2 separate regions of the Homo sapiens genome follow, and region 1 is linked to region 2. Evidence: promoter capture Hi-C in human tissues and cell types (Jung and others, 2019). All regions are on one chromosome and are shown on one strand. The core of a region is centred on a gene start or on the middle of the fragment in contact, and the rest is flanking DNA. Distances in the headings are between cores, read along the strand shown. Region 1 overlaps LOC105378937 (a long non-coding RNA gene). Region 2 holds the start of HMGCS2 (3-hydroxy-3-methylglutaryl-CoA synthase 2).

The links. The method cuts DNA at HindIII sites, captures the fragments that hold promoters and counts their contacts. A contact is called where the count stands out against the background at its distance.
Region 1: a fragment that was not itself captured here is called in contact with the fragment with the promoter of HMGCS2 in region 2 in 2 of the 25 tissues and cell types used here (bladder and neural progenitor cells).

What each region holds. Positions count from the first base shown.
Region 1 is chr1:119,706,027-119,708,923 of GRCh38, reverse strand. All of the region lies in intron 1 of LOC105378937 (a long non-coding RNA gene), which reads left to right. Among named protein-coding and RNA genes, the nearest start is that of PHGDH, 4.5 kb to the left of the region's middle. The HindIII fragment of the contact is 3,951 bases long and covers 1-2,897 here.
Region 2 is chr1:119,767,257-119,770,304 of GRCh38, reverse strand. HMGCS2 (3-hydroxy-3-methylglutaryl-CoA synthase 2) reads left to right here and starts at 1,400. Exons shown (of 10, transcript NM_005518.4): 1 at 1,400-1,564. The coding sequence starts at 1,461. RefSeq lists a silencer at 1,525-1,819. The HindIII fragment of the contact is 5,763 bases long and covers 1-3,048 here.

The sequences.
Region 1 (2,897 bases), core at 101-2,600, 61 kb after region 2:
AACTGAGGGTTGGAGTTGGGGAAATTTCTCCCTCTCCCTGTGTTATTGCATCCATCCATAAAACAGGAACTTTGGCCAGCTTGGAAGTAGTAGGAAAACAGTTCTGCCCTTCTCCTCAGACCCCTCCTTCTCTCCCTTCCTCTGGCCCCAACCCCTTCAGAAGAGAAAACCACTCTGATTAGTGAAGTTTGGGGAAAAGGTCCTAGTGCGTGCCCAGGCCAGCCCCTTTTGGCTCTCTCTTTCGAAGCTGGAAGCCTAAAATAATGTACACACTCCTGCTTCCTTGTGTGTAGTGAATCTGTCAAGGCAAGACCTACCCCTACCTAAGGTTGCAAGATGTCCAGCTGTTCCGCCTGTAACTCTGAGGATAAAGTTAATGGGGTTAAGGGGAGGAGAGTAGGAACTCTCTTTTTCTGCTTGGAGACCAGCTGTGATATCCAAACTCGAATCATAAGAAATAAAATATGTAACAAACCTGCATGTCGTGCACATGTACCCTAGAACTTAAAGTATAATAAAAAAAGAAATAAAATGATATTTTAAGATGCAGAAAATGAACTGTCATCCGTAAAACAGGCATATCTTGATTTGAATTTCAGCTTCTCAAGTTATGAACAATGTGATTTTGGGCAAATTACATTGCCCCCCTAAGACTTAGTTTTCTCCTATGTAATATGGAATGAATAGTATGATAGTGCTTACTTCATAAGGCTTTTGTAGGGATTAAATAAGGCAAAGCATACAAGTGAGTGTAATCTCTAGTGCTTGACTTTCCTTCATTCATCCACTCAATCAGTGTATATTTATTGAAACTGTAATGTGTCAGGCACTGCTGAGGGGGTTGGAAATGAAGCTTTGATTAAGACCGTCTCTGCTCTCATGGAGCTTACATTGCGTTTGAGGATAGAAAATAAATAAATAAACAAAAAATTGAACTGGATAATCTCAGGGCATATATAATAAATAATGTAAAACCAGATGATGTGAAAGACAGGTTAGGGGAGAGGAATCATAGACTTTATGATGAGGAAAGGCCTTCCTGAAAAGGTGGAGCTTGGGTTGAGACTGAAATAAGAAGAAACTGGCTATGCAAAGAATTAAAGAAAAAGAGAATTCGAGGCAGAAGGAAAAACAGAACAAGTGTGGCACATTCAAGAAACCTGCCCAAATATTTCTATAGTACTGACTATGTGCCAGGCACTGGAATAACAATGCTGAACAAGTCACATGTAGTCCCTACTCAGAGGGAACTTTTTTTTTTTTTACAAATTTAAAGAATTTTTTAATTCGTAAGAAAATTTAAAAATGTTTCTATCCCCAAAGAGAATGAATCAAGTTACATATGAATACGACAAAAAGAGAAAAACAAAGAACAGAAGAGAATGAGAGGGGAAGAAAGCAGAAGAAAGGAAAGGAGGGAGAAGAGGACAAAAAGAAATGGCTTAGCCAAGCATATCTTCACTGACAATCTTGATTAAACTTCACTTTTCTCCCCGTCGACAATTCCTTACATTTGGCTATTACCATAAATACACTCCATAGAGAATCATTCAATAAATATTGTTTGAACAAGTGGACAGTCATCTAGAAAATAAAGTCAAATCTGAATTTTATGCCAAGACAAATTTCAAATAATTTACATGTGAAATGTAAAAGCTAAAAACATAAACGGCACAAAAATCACGGAAGAATTAACTTTTTTTTTTTTTTTTTTTTTTTTGCTGGGGAGGGCAAGGCAGCCCCATCCTTCAGTACTTATTTATTTATTTATTATTTTTTTTATTATATTTTAAGTTTTATGGTACATGTGCACAACGTGCAGGTTTGTTACATATGTATACATGTGCCATGCTGGTGTGCTGCACCCATTAACTCGTCATTTAACATTAGGTATATCTCCTAATGCTATCCCTCCCCACCTCCCCCCACCCCACAAAAGGTCCCGGTGTGCGATGTTCCCCTTCCTGTGTCCATGTGTTCTCATTGTTCAATTCCCACCTATGAGTGGGAACATGCGGTGTTTGGTTTTTTTGTCCTTGCGATAGTTTACTGAGAATGATGATTTCCAATTTCATCCATGTCCCTACAAAGGACATGAACTCATCATTTTTTATGGCTGCATAGTATTCCATGGTGTATATGTGCCACATTTTCTTAATCCAGCTGTCATTGTTGGACATTTGGGTTGGTTCCAAGTCTTTGCTATTGTGAATAGTGCCGCAATAAACATACGTGTGCATGTGTCTTTATAGCAGCATGATTTATAATCCTTTGGGTATATCCAGTAATGGGATGGCTGGGTCAAATGGTATTTCTAGTTCTAGATCCTTGAGGAATCGCCACACTGACTTCCACAATGGTTGAACTAGTTTACAGTCCCACCAACAGTGTAAAAGTGTTCCTATTTCTCCACATCCTCTCCAGCACCTGTTGTGTCCTGACTTTTTAATGATCGCCATTCTAACTGGTGTGAGATGGTATCTCATTGTGCTTTTGATTTGCATTTCTCTGATGGCCAGTGATGATGAGCATTTTTTCATGTGTCTTTTGGCTGCATAAATGTCTTCTTTTGAGAAGTGTCTGTTCATATCCTTTGCCCACTTTTTGATGGGTTTGTTTGTTTTTTTCTTGTAAATTTGTTTGAGTTCATTGTAGATTCTAGATATTAGCCCTTTGTCAGATGAGTAGATTGCAAAAATTTTCTCCCAGTCTGTAGGTTGCCTGTTCACTCTGATGGTAGTTTATTTTGCTGTGCAGAAGCTCTTTAGTTTCATTAGATCCCATTTGTCAATTTTGGCTTTTGTTGCCATTGCTTTTGGTGTTTTAGACAGGAAGTCCTTGCCCATGCCTATGTCCTGAATGGTATTGCCTAGGTTTTCTCTCGGGTTTTTATGGTT
Region 2 (3,048 bases), core at 151-2,650:
GCACTGGGTGGCACAGACTGTAGCATGTGCTTTAAGACAGCAGGGGTTTTGAGAGGAGGAAGAGGAGAAATACCCTGGAAGAGATAGTATGAAGCAAAGAGGACACAGGCCTTGTTGTAAGCATTTAAAGTGCATTGGATTGACAAGAAGCAACAGGTATTTCAGAGAAGAGATTGGAAATGAAGAATTTCACTGACGACAGAACTTTGCAAAAGGCTGAGTGTAAGAGCAGGAGGTGACACAGCAAGGTAGGAGATTGAGTTAGAACACCAACACACCAAGATATATGGAGATAAGAATTTAAAGATAAGATGGAAGACCTAGATATCCTGGACTGCTGGGGGCACCTAGACATTCTCTGTCTGTAGGAACATGAAGTCAACTATATCCTCCTAAAGCAGGAACCACTCCAGCTCTTTTCTGTGTTCCCTACACACTCATATTAGACAGGGGGTTGGTGATGGGGATGACTGAATGAACTAAGGAGTGAATGCATGACTCACAAAAGGTAGAGGAAGATTGGTGCTGTGGGAGGAGTGGAGGGAGACATTCATTTGGAAAATCAGATGGCAGGAGCCTTTTTATTGAGTAGTAGAAGAGCAAAGCAGAAGGACCAGAATCTGGAGTCAAAAGACATGGTTGAGTTCTCATTCTGCAACTTCCTAGCTGCAGGTCTTTGGGAAAATGACTCCTTTATACATAACTCTGACCTCATCTATAAAGTAAACCTTTCCTCCTTAGGAGATTGAGCTTCAAACTGTCACCTCTTTGAGGCTCCTGTCCCTTTACTACAACACTAATTTCATCCCACTTGGAAATTGTGTAGAGCTGTACAAGTAAAAGGGTGGACAATAAACAGGAGAAATATAGTAGGTTCCACATACTCTAACGCCCAGCCCTTGGCCTATGTGCCAACACTCACTCCCAACTCCTTGAAAAGCTACTATTAAAAGAGTTTCCCTTTGGTTTAGAAAGATGTTTCTTATAATGCATAGCACATTAAAATAATAACAACTAACACCACAGAGAGGAGTGTGGAACACCCAGTGAGAGTAATACAGATAAGGAGCCAGGGTCTAAAACAAGACACATAGGGTTACCTTGGGATGTGATACAACAAGGAACATCATAACCTCCTGCTTAGGTAGCTGGGCAGAATCAAGGCTGCCACAGAGCCTGATGGAGTAGGAGGAACAATGCCCAGCCATTCCCACACATGCTCAGGAGCAGGGCAGCTATGTACATGTTGGAGAGATGCTGTTTGTCTTTGACTCGCCCGTGTTCTGAGTGAGCCCTTTGACCCAGTTTTAGAAGCAGACTGAGCCACGGTGAGCAGAGGCGGGGCTTAGGGAGGCAGGAGTCTTGGGGCTTTATAAAGTCCTGCCGGGCACCACTGGGCATCTCTTTCAAGGTTTCTGCTGGGTTTCTGAACTGCTGGGTTTCTGCTTGCTCCTCTGGAGATGCAGCGTCTGTTGACTCCAGTGAAGCGCATTCTGCAACTGACAAGAGCGGTGCAGGAAACCTCCCTCACACCTGCTCGCCTGCTCCCAGTAGCCCACCAAAGGTGAGTCACTTTCTGAGAAGCACCTTGTAACTAGTAAAAGATAGTTTTTCCCTGCTATTGGGGAAAACTCACTAGAATCCCACTCAAAATTTGGCAAGGCTTGTGCACAGCAGCCTTAGACAAGCAAGTTAACTTTAAAGGGTCTCAGTTACCTCATCTCTAAACAGACAATCCCTTTCAGCTGTAGAGTGAGAAGAGCCCAAACCTCTGACACATGCTGTGTTTGTGAGCAATGGCAACTTTTACTCTGCCAGCTGCATGAAGCAGTAGAAATATCAGTACCAGGCCACAGCTTTCCTCTCTACACCACCATTCCCACCTTCACCCCTAGCCTCTGCCTAGAACCACAGGACCTTGTGCCAACTGCAGTGTTAGTAAAACCAGTGACTTTATATCACTGCAGCAGAATCAGAAATGGACTGAGGATGAGAAGCTGTGTTTGCCTTGTGTTCCAATTTTATGAAAAGGGGAAATGTGTGTTTATGTGTGTATGTGTACATGCTCTTTGCAAGAAGAACATGCACACTCCTTTTCTTTGTAAATAGTCCCTGAACATGGCTCAAGTGCTTATGTTTTCCATTGTCAGCGATGATGGTAACACAGCTATCGTTAGTGCCTCAGGCTCCCAGCCACCTATGTGTTTCTGTCTAATCCCCAAACCATCCACTACACATTGGGACTAGTTCTTTATTTCCTTACATTTTTACTCTATATTCTATGACTACTAAATATTTAGAAAAATGATTTTGACCTAGTGTCTTTCCTTGCCAAATACCCAAGGAACCTGGGTGTATAGATGTGCATGGTAGAGGCAAATGCACATAGCTTTCTTATATTTTTCATTATGCTACCATCATCTCACTCTCCCCATGCACTGCCAAACCCTGCATGTGGGTTAAATGTCCCAGCTCAGGATTTAACCTGTTTCTATATTTGTGAAGAAGAGATTGATGTGGGTTTCTTGTTTTAATAGCAATAGTTGGCCATCAGCCAAAAGACATACATCAATCCTCCCCAACATTCTGACTCCCTTGGTTCAAACTCTTGGAATCATTCCCATTTCCCTTCTGGTATATTCACAGTTAATCCCATTATGCATGGCTTGAACTAATATTGCTTTTCATGAGTCACCTTTTCTCTATATGTCTAATCGCCTTTAATCCAACCCACATTGGCTCTAACTCCAACCTAAAAGAGACTTTCATCTCAGCATCTGCTTTGCTGTCTTCAAAATTCGGTAAGACTTGTGCCCTCCACTTACTGTATTTCTCACATATTGTCTCCCTGCTCCCCTATACACCTGCATCTCCAGGGTTCCTTACTTGTTCAGTCACCCCCTGCCGTGGCCACTGCCCCTTCATTCCCCTCCAGTTCTTCACTGGCAGAAGTCTGTCATCCATCAAGGTTTGCCTCAAATGCGGTCTCTTCCACGAAGCTTCTCTGATCCTCCAACCCACTGAAATCTCTGCTTCCTTTGAACTCCT